Regions from separate parts of the Homo sapiens genome. Here region 2 is linked to region 1. Evidence: promoter capture Hi-C in 16 types of primary human blood cells and fetal thymus (Javierre and others, 2016). All regions are on one chromosome and are shown on one strand. The core of a region is centred on a gene start or on the middle of the fragment in contact, and the rest is flanking DNA. Distances in the headings are between cores, read along the strand shown. Region 1 holds the start of TEKT2 (tektin 2). Region 2 overlaps AGO4 (argonaute RISC component 4).

Region 1 (7,281 bases), core at 910-3,409:
CCCAGGGCAGGGTCGTGAGAAGTATTCTGAGCCCATGTCCAGGCAGTGGGAAGAGTGCTACAATTGATTAGTGGTTTCTGTCACAGGCACCAGAGGGCCAAAATGTAGCACGAGAGCCAGTTGCTCCTCATCCACAATACCTGTGTTCCACATTGAAGGCACACAGCCTCCAGGGGCCCATGAACATGCGGACGACCTGCCTCTCCCTTACCAGAGCTGCTCGAAGGCCTGGCTGACCTTCTGTTGCAAGGCCTTCTTGGTGGCCTCGATGACCTCCACCTCTTTATGCAGCTCATCCTCCACAGGGTCCTTCACCACATCAATGTCTCGCCGGCTTTCCCGCAGGGTCAGGCACTCAATGGCCACATCCAGAGGCAGGTTCTTGGCCTGCAGGTTTTGCTCTGCTGACTCCTTCATCTAGAAAAGAGGGCGCGGCCGGGCACGGTGGCTCACATCTGTAATCCCAGCACTTCGGGAGGCCGAGTTGGATGGAACACTTGAGGTCAGGAGTTCGAGAACAGCCTGGCCAAAATGGTGAAACCCCGTCTCTACTAAAAATACAAAAATTAGCTGGGAGTGATGGCGCACGCCTGTAGTCCCAGCTACTTTACTCAGGAGGCTGAGGCAGGAGAATCGCTTGAGCCCAGGAGGCGGAGGTTGCAGTGAGCCACGATCACACCACTGCACTCCAGCCTGGGCAACAGATCCAGATGCTGTCTCAAAAAAAAAAAAAAAAAAAAAAAAAGAAAAGAAAGAAAGAAAAAAAAAGAAAAGAAAAGAGTGGGCGGGGGTGCTGGTGGGGCCATCCATGGGGAAGTAGCGCTTGTCCCCACTTTAGCAGGGGGCCAGTGACTCGGATGGACATGCCACTCATGACCCCCCATCAAGGGCTTCTCAACCTAGCTGTGGGGAAGGAGGGGAGGTTTCGGCAGCAGCCCCCGGGCACCCAGTCCTGGATCCCTGCCTGTGTCAGGGCATCGATCTCGGCATCTAAATCTGTCAGACACTTGTCCAGCATCTCCTTCCACCGGTTGACAGTATCAATCCTCTCCACCAGTCGAGTCCTGTTGTCATGTTCATCCCAAATGGTCTGAGAGAGACAGAGCCAGATAGAGAGGGTGTCAAGGGGTTGGGGGCTATCCCTTTGCCCACCCAGCTGAGTTCCCATCCCCAACCTGGTTGTTGGTCTCGTTGCGGAGCACCCGGGCCTCCTGGCGGATCTGATGGGAAGCATCTCGCTGCAGCTGGGCATTGGTGGATAGCAGGTAGCTGTTAGTGTGCCAGTCGGGCAGCTGGAAGCGCCGACTTGGCTTGACGCTCAGCGTGGCCATGGCACAGAAACCAGAAGGGTCAGAAACCCCTAGGCCTGTTCACAGACACCACCTGCAGAGGGAAAACACTGCTGCGGGAGACCTTTCCGGAGACCTCCTGGATCACACGCCCCCTGCGCAGGACTTGTTCCTGTCCATTTTGCTCTGAGCCCTGTCCTGCTGGAAGCCTGCTTGGAGACAGCCCTTGCTTTACTCAACTTTGTGTGAGGTATTAACTAAGTTTCCCTCCCTCCCGTCCCCAGGCGGACACAAACCCCTGGACCTTGCAGGTCCTGGAGCAGGTAAAAAGGAATAATGGAGTCCCGGAAGCCTCGAAGTGTGTGTGAAGTGCCAAATGCCTGGGGGGTAGGCGGATGGCAGAAAAAAATTGCCCTTAATGCATTTTCCACACCTGCCCCCAGCCAACCATGCCTTGTTGATCTTCCTTTCCTTTCTTCCCCAGGCTGCGGGCCAGTCCCCGTGGGGGATCTAAGGGCAGGAGCCCTGTTCTGTCTCCAGGGACGCGTGCCTGTTGGCACTGGGGAGCTGGGGGGCGGCCCCCGGGGCGGCCCCCTCCCCGTCTGGTAGCCGCCACGCCCTCCCGCCCCTCCGCCCTCGCCTACTGTTGGAGGGGAAGGCCGGACAGGGAGAGCCCCGTGGGAAGAGCTGGGGTCAGTCCGGTTCCCCGTCAAACCCCTTTCTTCCCCTCCGCAGGATGATCGCCTTTGGTTTAGATCAGTACCCCGGTCCAGCGCGGAGGAAGGGGGCGCCCCCGCTTCCCTAGCTCCCTTACCTCCTTTCCCGCTTCGCTCTCCGCGCCCCCCGCTCTGAGCTCCAGTGTTTGGCACCACCGGTTGCTAGGCAACCACCCCTCCCCTACCCCCCCAACCCCCCGCGGCCAACGCGGCCTGGGCGCTTCGCTTGGCAACCGCGGCGGCGTCGGGCGGCGTCCCCGGAGGCCTTTAGGGTAGGCGAGGGGCGGCCGGCCGAGCCTGGGAGAGGTGGGGGGCATCAGGGCAGCGCTTTCACTTGATTTACAAATTAAATGAACATTTGTTGTCTTTTCAGACAGGATCTCGCTCTGTCGCCCAGGCTGGAGTGCTGTGGCTCAGTCTCGGCTCACTGCAGCCTGAACCTCCCCGACTGAAGCGATTCTCCCACTTCAGCCTCCCGAGTTAGCTGGGACCACAGGCGCGTGCCACCACACCTGGCTAAATTAAAAAAAAAATTTTTAGTAGAGACAGGGTTTCACCATTTTGCCCGGGCTGGTCTCAAACTCCTGGCCTCAGGCGATCCACCCATCACAACCTCCCAAAATGCTGGGATTACAGATGTGTCACTGCCCCGGCCTAAACAATTTTATTTTGATAAAGGTATGCATAGACATGATAGAAAATACGAAACCAAGTGCAGTGGCTCACGCTTGTAATCCCAGCTACTCCAGAGACCCAGGCGGGAGGAGCGCTTGAGGCTAGGATTTCGAGGTCAGCCTCAGAAACATAGTAGTTGCCAGCAAACGAACAGTACATAGAAAAAGTAGGCTGGGCGCAGCGACTCAGGCCTGAGATCCCAGCACTCTGGGAGGCCGAGACCAGGTGGATCGCTTGAGTCCAGGAGTTGGAGACCAGCCTGGGCAACATGGCGAAACCCCATCTCTACAAAAAATACAAAATTTGGCCAGGCAAGGTGGCTCACGCCTGTAATACCAACACTTTGGGAGGCTGAGGCAGGTGGATCACCTGAGGTCAAGAGTTGGAGACCAGCCTGGCCAACGTGGTAAAACGCTGTTTCTACTAAAAACACAAAAATTAGCCAGGTGTGGTGGCAGGTGCCTGTAATCCCAGCTACTTGGGAGGCTAAGGCAGGAGAATCACTTGAGCCTGGAGGCAGAGGTTGCAGTGAGCTGAGGTGGTGCCACTGCACTCCAGCCTGGGTGACAGAGTGAGACTCCATCTCAAAAAATAGATTAATTAATTAAAATTAAAATCAGGTGCACTCCCCAGCAGGTCCCCTCCAGCAATGGATGGATAGTTAATGTTGTTTACAACATTTCTTCTATTCTGTCTTGCCCAACAACTTTGCCCATCTTGAAGGTCATACAAGGAATGATAAAGGGATGATAATCATGTTTGGAGAGGGCACAACCCTGAGAGAGGTAACTGGGGTATGAGAAGCAATGCTCTGGTGGCACACGCCTATAATCCCAGCTACTCGGGAGGCTGAGGCAGGAGAATTACTTGACCCTGGGAGGCGGAGGTTGCAGTGAGCTGATAACACGCCTCTGAACTCCAGCCTGGGGAACAGAACGAGACTCTGTCTCAAAAAACAAAATGAAACAAAACAAAACACAAAAAAACCAGAGAAGCAATGCTCAATATTCAACCATTTCTTTAAAAAAAGAAGGGAAAAAAAATCATGTTTGTCTTATTGTCTAGTACTGTATTGTCTGGTATTGCCTAGTATTTCTAGGGGTTGGAAAAATATTAACATTTAATCTTCACAACTAATAGGTGAGGTGGGCATTGTCCCCACTTTCTTAGGTAACAAAAGAGACACACTGCTAAAAAGCAGGGAGGGAAACCCAGGTGTTCTGGCCCCACCCAGAGGACACTCTGCTGTGCTCCACACTGCCTCTCATGGGGGGCTGGGATAGAGAGGAAGACAGGTGTGCAGGCCTGGTCCTGTTCTGAGGACTCTGCTGAACCGGATCCTATGAGGTGGGTACTGTTACCATCTTCACTTTATAGGCAGGGAGACTGAGGCATAGGCCAGTGAGGACGTGCCCAGGTCACATCACTAACAAGTGGTACAGCCTGGATTGAAACCCAGGCAGTTGGGCCCAGGGGGAAAGAAGTCCCAGAAGGGTCCTTCAGTTGTAAAACGTCACTGGGGGGATGGGAAGAACAGTAGAGAAGCAAGGGCTTGGTAGGCAATTGGGGGATGAGGTTGGCTTTTGAGCAGTTTTTGAGCAGTTTGAGGTGTACACAGTGGATCCAGCTGCTGCCTAGCAGGCATTGGGGTTGTTTTTTTTTGTTTTGTTTTATTTGGTTTTTTTTTTTTGACAGAGTCTTACTCTGTTGCCCAGGCTGGAGTGCAGTGGCATGATCTTGGCTCACTGCAACCTCTCCTTCCCGGGTTCAAGTGATTCTCCTGCCTCAGCCTCCCGAATAACTGGGACTACAGGCATGCGCCACCACACCTGGCTAATTTTTATATTTTTAGTAGAGACGGGGTTTCACCATGTTGGCCAGGCTGGTCTCAAACTCAAACTCAGGTGATCTGCCCAGCTTGGCCTCCCAAAGTACTGGGATTACAGGCGTGAGCCACCATGCCCGGCCTGACTTGTTAATTGCAAGTCTGTCGTTCAGCAGGACTGAAGCCAGAACACTAATTCCCAAACTCCCTTCATTACAGAGTATTTTTTTCCACAGGTTATTTTGTAAACTCTAATATATGACTTGTAAACTGGACATGAACAAGAATTTGTGATATAGCCTCTTTACCAGGATTGAAGAAGATAGAAAGAAAAAAATCTTGGACAAATTAATTGCAGGAAGAAATGATCAAATTTTGGCTTACATATTTTGCAACAGTGGTATAACACAAAGAAGTAAGCAAATATGGCAGAAGTGTGGTGGCTTTGGCGTCTACTTTTGACCATAGTGGTGGCCCTGTTATTCGTGGCTCCCGGGGTTCCTACACATCCTTCCCGATGGAAGAAGGGGTTGGCCAAAAAGGTCAGCCAGCTGATGGGTTGGACCAAGAAAGACAGAGTGATAAGAATGAGTGACACCATGTTCTATCATTTTGTATTAGATGCACCAAAAAACTATTCTGTTATTGTGATGCTTACTGCTGCTCTCCACGCGTTCAGTTCATGTGTCATGTGCAAAGGTGCTGCTGAAGAATTTCAGATCTTGGCAAATTCCTATCAACGCCCTGGTGCATTCACCACAAAGGTATTTTTTGCAATGGTGGATTATGATGAAAGCCCTGAGGTCTTTGAAGCGCTCCAGGTAACGTCAGTTCCGAGTTTCTTCCACTTTTCTGCCCAATGGAAATTTACAACAGATGACATTTATAATTTGAGAGGAAGGGATATTGTTGCTGACCAAATGGCTGAATGGGTAGCAGAAAGAACACATGTCAGCGTCAGAATCAGACAGCCTACAAATAAATTATCATGGTCTCCTCAAGCCAGGGATACTTCTGGCTCTCATTGGTGGACTTGGGTATTTCTTGAAATGGAATAGGAAATCTATTTCTTGCAGAATTTTGTGCGAAGTTTTAACTCTGTGCTTTGTGATTGTGATGACGTCTGGTCAAATGTGGACTTATATAAGAGGAGAACCATATGTCCAAAGGGACCCTCACACAGGACATAAACATTATATCAGTAAATTTAGTCAGGCTCAGTTTGCAGCAGAAACATTCATTATTTCCCTGTTTAATATGTGTGTTAGCCTGGGAATGGTGCTGTTAGACAAGGCTGCCACCTCTACGATGAACATCAGAAAGAGAAAGATGATGTGTCTGGCTGGTATGTGTCTTGTTGCCATATTCTTCAGTCGGCTGCTTTCCCTCTTTAGATTTAAAGTACCTGACTATCCATACAGCTTTGTCTGGGATTAAAAAGGATCCTACAGACATAGACAATGAAGCAAGAAATTTGAAAAAAAAAATGTGAAGCAGAAAAATGCAAACTCATAGCTTTTTAAAGTAATTGAGATTTCACCAAAAGAGACCATAAGTGCTTTAAGTGCTTTCAAAATCTGTCAAGTATTATGGTATGTATCTTCTCTGTTCTTAATTTTTCTCCCCGAGTGTTATAGATTACCTCAAGTCCAATTATTAAAATCTTTAGAGAGTACAACTTTCATCGAATCAGAACAATGTTTTACAATGTTTAAAAGTACCTTAGTTAATATTAATATTTGGTCAGCTGATCTTATTCTAATATGAAAAATAATCTTTTTTCTTTTCTTTTTTTTTTTTTTTTTTTTGAGATGGAGTCTCACTCTATTGCCCAGGCTGGAGTGCAGTGGTGCAATCTTGGCTCACTGCAAGCTCCGCCTCCTGGGTTCACGCCATTCTCCTGCCTCAGCCTCCCAAAAAGCGGGGACTACAGGCGCCTGCCACCAGGCCTGGATAATTTTTTTGTATTTTTAGTAGAAATGGGGTTTCACCATGTTAGCCAGGATGGTCTTGATCTCCTGACCTCATGATCCGCCCACCTCGGCCTCCCAAAGTGCTGGGATTACAGGCGTGAGCCACTGCGCCCAGCCAAAAAATAATCTTTTTTCTTTTTCTTTTGAGGCAAGGTCTCCCTCTGTTGCTCAGACTGGAGATCAGTGACACAATCTCAGCTCACTGCAACCTCCGCCTCCTGGGTTCAAGCGATTCTCCTGCCTCAGCCTCTTGAGTAGCCGGGACTACAGGCGTGTGCCACTACGCCCGGCTACCTTTTTGTATTTTTAGTAAGGACGGGGTTTTGCCATGTTGGCCAGGCTGGTCTTGAACTCCTGATCTCAAGTGATCCACCCCTTTGACCTCCCAAAGTGCTGGGATTACAGACATTAGCCACAGTGCCCGGCCGAAAAATAATATCTTGACAAGGTATTCCCACACCTGGCCACTGAAGATAATTATTATCCCTCTATGGCAGTGTACATTTGCAGTCTGTTTTGTGGGCAGTGTACATTTGCAGTTGTATTATCTTGTCCCCTGAAGTTTAAATACCTATGTTTAGAGTACACTTCCAAAGCTCAGAGGCAAATACATACTTCTTAGTACTACTACATATCCGTCTCTCCTATTGGAATACACTAGTATGTTTCTTTTTGTTTTTTTCTTTTACCGTGCTTTTTTTTTTTTTTTTTTTCTTAAGACGGAGTTTCACTCTGTCCCCCAGGCTGGAGTGCAGTGAGTGGCATGATCTCGGCTCACTGCAACCTCCGCCTCCCAGGTTCAA
Region 2 (7,281 bases), core at 3,461-5,960, 260 kb after region 1:
AGAAGAATTTTAAAAAAATAACTTAAAACAAGAAGATACTGCAGAACCAGAACATACATAGACTCACTTGAGGTCAGGTAACACCTACAGGTACAAATACAACCTCTTGCTGGCTTCAAATTAACATAAAGATTTGGAGTAATCCATGTAGGTGTTTTGTTCCCTTAAGATAACTTTATGTAAAATGAGTGTAGCATAGTTATTGGGGCCACATTTTTAGATTCCCAAATTTTTAGATCCTAAAACTAGAACAAATACATGTGGATCTGGAGACAACAAGACCAAATACATGAATCTGAGACTGTGCCAGAATATTTGGCATAATTAAGATACTCTATTTGGCTTTTCCAGTGGGCAAATTATCTCAAATACTTAGTACAATAATAACTTTAATCTTGCTTTTTTTTTTTTTTTTTTTGAGACAGAGTCTCGTTCTGTCACCTAGGCTGGAGTGCAGTGGCATGATTTTGGCTTACTGAAACCTCCACCACTTGGGCTCAAGCAATTCTCCCACCTCAGCCTCCCAACTAGCTGGGACAAATGCCTGGCTAATTTTTTTGTATTTTTTATAGAGGGGTCTTGCCACATTGCCCAGGCTGGTCTCGAACTCCTGGGCTCAAGGAATCCTCTTTCCTCAGCCTCCCAAAGTGTTGGGATTACAGTTGTCAGCCACCATGCCGGGTTTTAATCTTGCATTTTTTTTTTTTTTTTTTTTTTTTTTAAGATGTAGTCTCACTCTGTTGCCCAGGCTAGAGTGCAATCTCGGCTCACTGCAACCTCTGCCTCCCGGGTTCAAGTGATTCTCCTGCCTCAGCCTCCCGAGTACCTGGGATTACAGGCGCCTGCCACCATGCCTGCCACCATGCCCAGCTAATTTTTGTATTTTTAGTAGAGACAGGGTTTCACCATGTTGGCCAGGCTGGTCTTGAACTCCTGACCTCTAGTGATCTGCCTGCCTCGGCCTCCCAAAATGCTGGGATTTAGAGGCGTGAGCCACCACGCCCAGCCCGTTAATCTTCTTTTCTTAACTGCCACAGCCTTACAAAGTAGTGGTGCAGTAAGGGTCATCTATGTGATATTTAAATATATGAGTTATAATCTTTCAGCAAAGATTATATACGTCTATAAGTCTAATTATTCTAACAGGGTTATGTGAAATAATTAAATAATGAAAAGAGCACAGTTCTTGAACAAATGCTACAATTCTCAACAGTGACTTCATAAGGTTTTGGTAACTTTTTTTTTTTTTTTTCTGAGAAAGAAGTCAATGGTATAATACAAATAATACATGAAATACCAATTTACCACTCTTAAGAAATTCATGTAGTGTGTACATGAGGTCATACTGAAGAATTTATTCCAATCAGACTGAAATAATGCACTTTATTTATCCAGAAGCCATCTGAAAATTTCAACTATCTAGACAAAGCCCTCTGGGTGATTTTGATATGCACTAAAGTTTGAAAATTAAGAATCATGAATCTAAAACAAAGTCAGATTAGAATATAAGCAAAAAAAGGTGTGTGTGTGGGGGGGGGGGCTCTGAGTAACCAAAATAATGTAAATGTAGTAAAGTGTATACTGTATATTTAACTCTTTATTTAGAAGAGCCAATATTTATGTTTATGTCAGACATGATCTTGATTACAAGAATAAGATACAGATATAATTTTTAAAGCACTTTCACATATAGTGTCTCACTGAGGCACAGTTTTCAGTAGATTAGAAGTGTTGGGTGATGGGCTGGGCGCAGTGGCTCATGCCTGTAATCCCAGCACTTTGGGAGGCCGAGGCGGGTGGATTGCCTGAGGTCAGGGGTTCAAGATCAGCCTGGCCAACATAGAGGAACCCTGTCTCTACCAAAAATACAAAAAATTAGCTGGGCATGGTGGCAGGTGCCTGTAATCCCAGCTACTTGGGAGGTTGAGGCAGGAGAATCGCTTGAACCGGGGAGGTGGAGGTTGCAGTGAGCAGAGATCACGACATTGCACTCCAACCTGGGCAACAAGAGCTAAACTCTGTCTCAAAAAAAAAAAGAAGTGTTGGGTGATTAGGAAAATGAGATTGGGGAAATGGAAAGGAGTATGCTGCTGGAGGATGCCATAGACACCAACAGCTGTAAGAAGTGACAGCTACCTACAAAGGGAGGGAGAGAAATCCACACAAAACACAAAGCAATAGATGTCTTCTCCCAGCCTGGGCAACAAAGTGGGACCCCATCTCTATTAAAAATACAAAAATTAGCCAGGCATGGTGGCACATGCCTGTAGTCCCAGATACTCAGGAGGCTGAGGTGGGAGGATTGCTTGAGCCCAGGAAGCTGAGGCTGCAGTGGGCCATGACGGTGCCAAGCACTATATATATACGTGTGTCTGTATTTTTTTTAGAAGATACATACATACATATAAAATGTCTTCTCATATATTTTATTTACATGTATGTCTTCTCCTGACAGCCTTATATGATATCTAGGCCTTAATAGACCTTTTGAGCCATGTATTAAGAATTACAACAGTAGGCTGGGTGTGCTGGTTCACACCTGTAGTCCCAGCACTTTGGGAGGCCGAGGCGGGCAAACTGTTTGAGCCCAGGAATTCAAGACCAGACTGGGCAACATAGCAAAACCCCACCTCTACAAAAAAAATTAGGCGAGTGTGGTGGTGCATGCCTGTAATCCCACTACTTGGAAGTCTGAGGTGGGAGGTTCACTTGAGCCCAGAAGGTGACAGAGTGAGACCCTGTCTCCAAAAGAAAAAAAAAAAAAAAAAAAAGAATAACAACAGTATAATAAAAAAAAGCTTATAATGACTCTGCATCATTAAATAAAAAGATTAAATAAAACATAGATTAAATAAAAGTTAATCTATGTTTAACATACTCTACTTAAGAGGTAAATTGAATTAAAGGCAAGGAATGTGTTTTATAAATACCTCTACCAAAAATATTCAGAAAATGTTTTAAAACTTTGGTGTTAAAAGCAAAGATTCTCGTGATCTTGAAAATTTCAGTATAAGATAACCAATTTCTTTCTTTTTTTCTTTTGAGATGGAGTTTCACTCTGTCACCCAGGCTGGAGTACAAGGTGTGATCTTGGCTCACTGCAAACTCTGCCTCCTGGGTTCAAGCGATTCTCCTGCCTCAACCTCCCAAGCAGCTGGGATTACAAGCGCCTGCCACTAAGCCTGGCTAATTTTTGTAGTTTTTAGTAGAGACGGGGTTTCACTATGTTGGCCAGGCTGGTCTCGAACGCCTGACTTCAAGTGATCTGCCTGGCTCGGCCTCCCAAAGTGCTGAGATAACAGGTGTGAGCCACCATGCCTGGCCAAGATAACCAATTTCTTTTTATTTATTAATTTTTTTTGAGACAGGGTCTTGCTCTGTTGCCCAGGCTGGAGTGCAGTGGTGTGACCTCGGCTCACTGTAACCTCCACCTCCCAGGTTCAAACAATTCTCTGCCTCAGCCTCCCGAGTACCTGGTGTTACAGGTACCCGCCACCACGCCCAGCTAGTTTTCTTGTATTTTTAGTAGAGATGGGGTTTCACCATCTTGGCCAGGCTGGTCTTGAACTCCTGACCTCATGATCCACCTACCTCGGCCTCTCAAAGTGCTGGGATTACAGGTGTGAGCCACTGTGCCCGGCCAATAACCAATTTCTTAAAACAATTATAGTAGCTCCCTCTGTTACTAAAAATGTAATTGTATTACTTTAGATGTGGTTAACATACGTTTGATGACTGGCTGGCCGTCTAGTCACATTACAAACTCGGTATTTTCGTTTCATCTGTCCACAGTGGGTCACCTCAACTTTGAGACCTGAAATTTTTTTTAAAAGGCAAAACATCAGTTAATTAAAATCACAGTGGCAAAAACAGATTCAAATGTTGTCTTCAAAATGTCATGACATTGTACAGGATAAAAATTGCAAGAATATGGGGACAATTTCATCGTTATAGGCAAAAAACCTGAGTTAAGCAGAATAAATTAGAACTCAGATTACCTAAGATGCTCAATCTCCTTTAGTTTATTATTTCATCCAATAAATATTTATTAAGCATCAACTATGTTCTGATGCTTATTTTCAGGTCTGGAGACAGCTTTCGTGAAGTTTATATTCTAGTGAGGGAAACTAACTAATAACAAGAAGAAAAGAAATCCCAGAAGGATAATAAATGAATTTATGTTATTTTATTAAAATGGAAGTTCTTAAGTGGGTAAGCATAGCATTTACTGAGTGCCTGATATGTGACAGGTACTATGCTAGAAAGCTTTATAAGCCTAATTGCATTTAATTCTCACAACAACTCTACAAGGTATATATTATTATCTTTACCTTAGAGATGAATACACTAAGGTTCACAGTGGTTAAGGAACTTGACCAAGGTCCCATTGATAGAAGTGGTTAGCCTGAGACCGAAGCCCAGGTCTGTGTGACTCCAGAGCACAGGCAACGTGCAGCATGCTGAGCTGCTTCTCCAAGACTACATTAATGCAAACACTTACCTCTGATTTCTTTGGTAAATTTGACACGCTGGGAGTCTGTTAGAGGTTTGGTCTGTTCATTGATGTTCTGAATGTCTAAAACCTCACACATGAACTCAATGATAGGCTGAGCCCGGTAGAAAGCAGTTGCAGATACTAACAAACAGAGAAGGATACTTCACTTCAGGGAAAAGGGAAGGGCCAAAACAAACAAACAAACAAAAACCAGCCCAAAGAGTTATTGGATAAAGAGAGTTCCATCCTACCATCAATGTTGAGCATCATATTCCACATGGCAGGTCTCACAGACTGATGAAAACCAAACCAGACCTCCCTGCCCCCTCCCAGAGGGTGGTAGTAACCTTCCGGGGGTGAGAAAAAGGAACGGCCCACTGGGGTGTACCTGAAGAAATAAGAGTTTGCATGTGTCACATTAAACATGTGAAAGGTCCTTCATTTCACTCTCAACTCTGGGAGCTGAAATCAAATTTGAACAATGACTTATGCAGAAATTTTTCAATGGCTCCAGTACAACCTACCAAAAAAGTCTGACATTTGTAGGAAATAATCCAAACCAAGGTACTAACCTCATGGAGGGAAGGTGTCTTGTGATAACATCAAGTGCTTGTACTGAGTCATCTGGGACTTCATTCAAGTGCCCAGCCAAAGCTTCTAAAAGCAACTGAAGGCTCACAACTGACACCCACTGAACAGACACTTTAAATGTTTGGTCTTTACCCTCGCCTGGAAGAGTCACCTCCATATCAACCTAAGGAAAAAAATACATGAATACAAACACAAATGTTTACAATGGCTGTGGGAAAGATCCCAAGAATATGCAGTATGATACATGCATAAGGATATTTCTTTTAACTTTTTTTTACAATTGTGTAACATTGGAAACAACTTAGTGTCCATGAGTAGGGGTATAATTTAATATGTAACATTATACAATAGTGAAAAAATAAGGTAGATGTTATAACATGGATGACGCTTGAAAACATTATGCTAAATGAAACAAGCCAGATACAAAAAGACAAATATTTCATGATTCTATTTCTATGAAGTACATTGAATAGTCAAATTTAAAGGGACAGAAAGTAGAATAGTGGTTCTCAGGGACCAGGGACAGTAGGGTATGGGGAATTATTGTTTAATAGGTACAGAGTTTTCGTTTGGAATGATGAAAAAGTTCTGAAAATGGATAGTGATGATGGATGCACAACAATGTGAACATACATAATGCCATTAAACTGTAACATAACATCATAAGTTTTTTTTGAGACAGGGTCCTGCTCTGTCATCCAAGCTGGAGTGCAGTGGTGCAATAATAACTTATTGTAGCCTCAAAGTCCTGGGCTCAAGGGATCCTCCCACTTTAGCCTCCCAAGTAGCTGGAATTACAAGTGCACACCACCATGCCTGGCTAATTAGAAATTTTTTTTTTGTAGAGATGGGTCTCCCTGTGTTGCTCAGGCTGGTCTCAAACTACTGGCCTCAAGCAATTCTCCCACCTCGATCTCCCACAGCACTGGGATTTTTGGCTGGGTGAAGCACTACACCCAGCCAAAAATAGTAAATTTTATGTTATATATTATTTTACAACAATAAAAACTTAAATTTGAAAAAAAATAATAAGGTAGATATAAATGTATAGAAATGGAAAGATCTTTCAGGCATATTGTTAAATGAAAAGCAAATCATAGAGTGACATGCAAAACAATAAGAATACACATCAACATATGTATAAATAGCAGCTAATATACATAACATATCTAAAAAGATACATACCAAACTACTATAGTAGTTTCCTTTGGAAAGGAAAATGGTAGTGAGGGTGCAGATAAGTGGTGGAGGCGGTAAATCACAGCATTTCTAGATTGTCTGGATAAATTTATTATGAGCATATGTTCACACAGTACTTTTCTAATTTAAAAAAAATAAATGTTTAAAAAAGTATTGTGCTATTATAATCTATTTTCATAAGTGAGTATTATATAGTTTTCTATAATTTATAAAACTCTGTTGTTCAGATTCAGGTAGTACTTTGTTAAAGTACATGGTTAATGTGAGAAATTACGTAAAGATGACATAATCAACCTCAATCCTAATGCTCATCTCATTTTCAATTATCAGTTAACTAAGACAAGAGAATATGGACAGAATAACAAATCTATCATCACTATAAAAAACAACTCTCGCTGGGCGTGGTGGCTCATGCCTGTAATCCCAGCACTTTGGGAGGCTGAGATGGTGGATCACCTGGGGTCAGGAGTTTGACACCAGCCTGTCCAACATGGTGAAACCCCATCTGTACTAAAAAAAAAAATAATAATAATAATAAAAATTAAGGCCAGGCGCAGTGGCTCATGCCTGTAATCCCAGCACTTTGGGAGGCTGAGGCGGGTGGATCACCTGAGGTCAGGAGTTCGAGACCAGCCTGGCCAACATATAGTGAAACCCCCATTTCTACTAATAAAATACAACAATGATCTGGGCGTGGTGGCACACGCCTATAGTCCCAGATACTTGGGAAGCTGAGGCCGGAGAATCGCTTGAACCCAGGAAGTGGAAGTTGCACTGCGCCGAGATCGCGCCACTGCACTCCAGCCTGGGCAACAGAGCAAGGCTCCGTCTCTCAAGGAAAAAAATAAAATAAAAATTAGCCAGGTGTGGTGGCACATGCCTGTAATCCCAGCTACTTGGAAGGCTGGGGCAGGAGAATCACTTGAATCTGGGAGGCAGAGGTTTCAGTGAGTGGAGACCAAACCACTGCATTCCAGCCTGGGTGACAGAGCGAG

What was found. The method cuts DNA at HindIII sites, captures the fragments that hold promoters and counts their contacts. A CHiCAGO score of 5 or more calls a contact.
Region 2: a fragment that was not itself captured here is called in contact with the fragment with the promoter of TEKT2 in region 1 in 1 of 17 cell types (erythroblasts); the score reaches 5.7 in erythroblasts.

The regions. Positions count from the first base shown.
Region 1 is chr1:36,078,972-36,086,252 of GRCh38, reverse strand. It overlaps TEKT2 (tektin 2), which reads right to left and starts at 2,159. Exons shown (of 10, transcript NM_014466.3): 1 at 2,104-2,159; 2 at 1,176-1,383; 3 at 965-1,090; 4 at 212-417. The coding sequence starts at 1,331. It also overlaps the pseudogene LOC100128093. RefSeq lists an enhancer at 791-1,589. The HindIII fragment of the contact is 20,325 bases long and covers 1-7,281 here.
Region 2 is chr1:35,823,281-35,830,561 of GRCh38, reverse strand. It overlaps AGO4 (argonaute RISC component 4), which reads right to left. Exons shown (of 18, transcript NM_017629.4): 4 at 5,068-5,249; 5 at 4,747-4,883; 6 at 4,502-4,636; 7 at 3,727-3,814. Among named protein-coding and RNA genes, the nearest start is that of AGO4, 19 kb to the right of the region's middle. The HindIII fragment of the contact is 883 bases long and covers 4,269-5,151 here.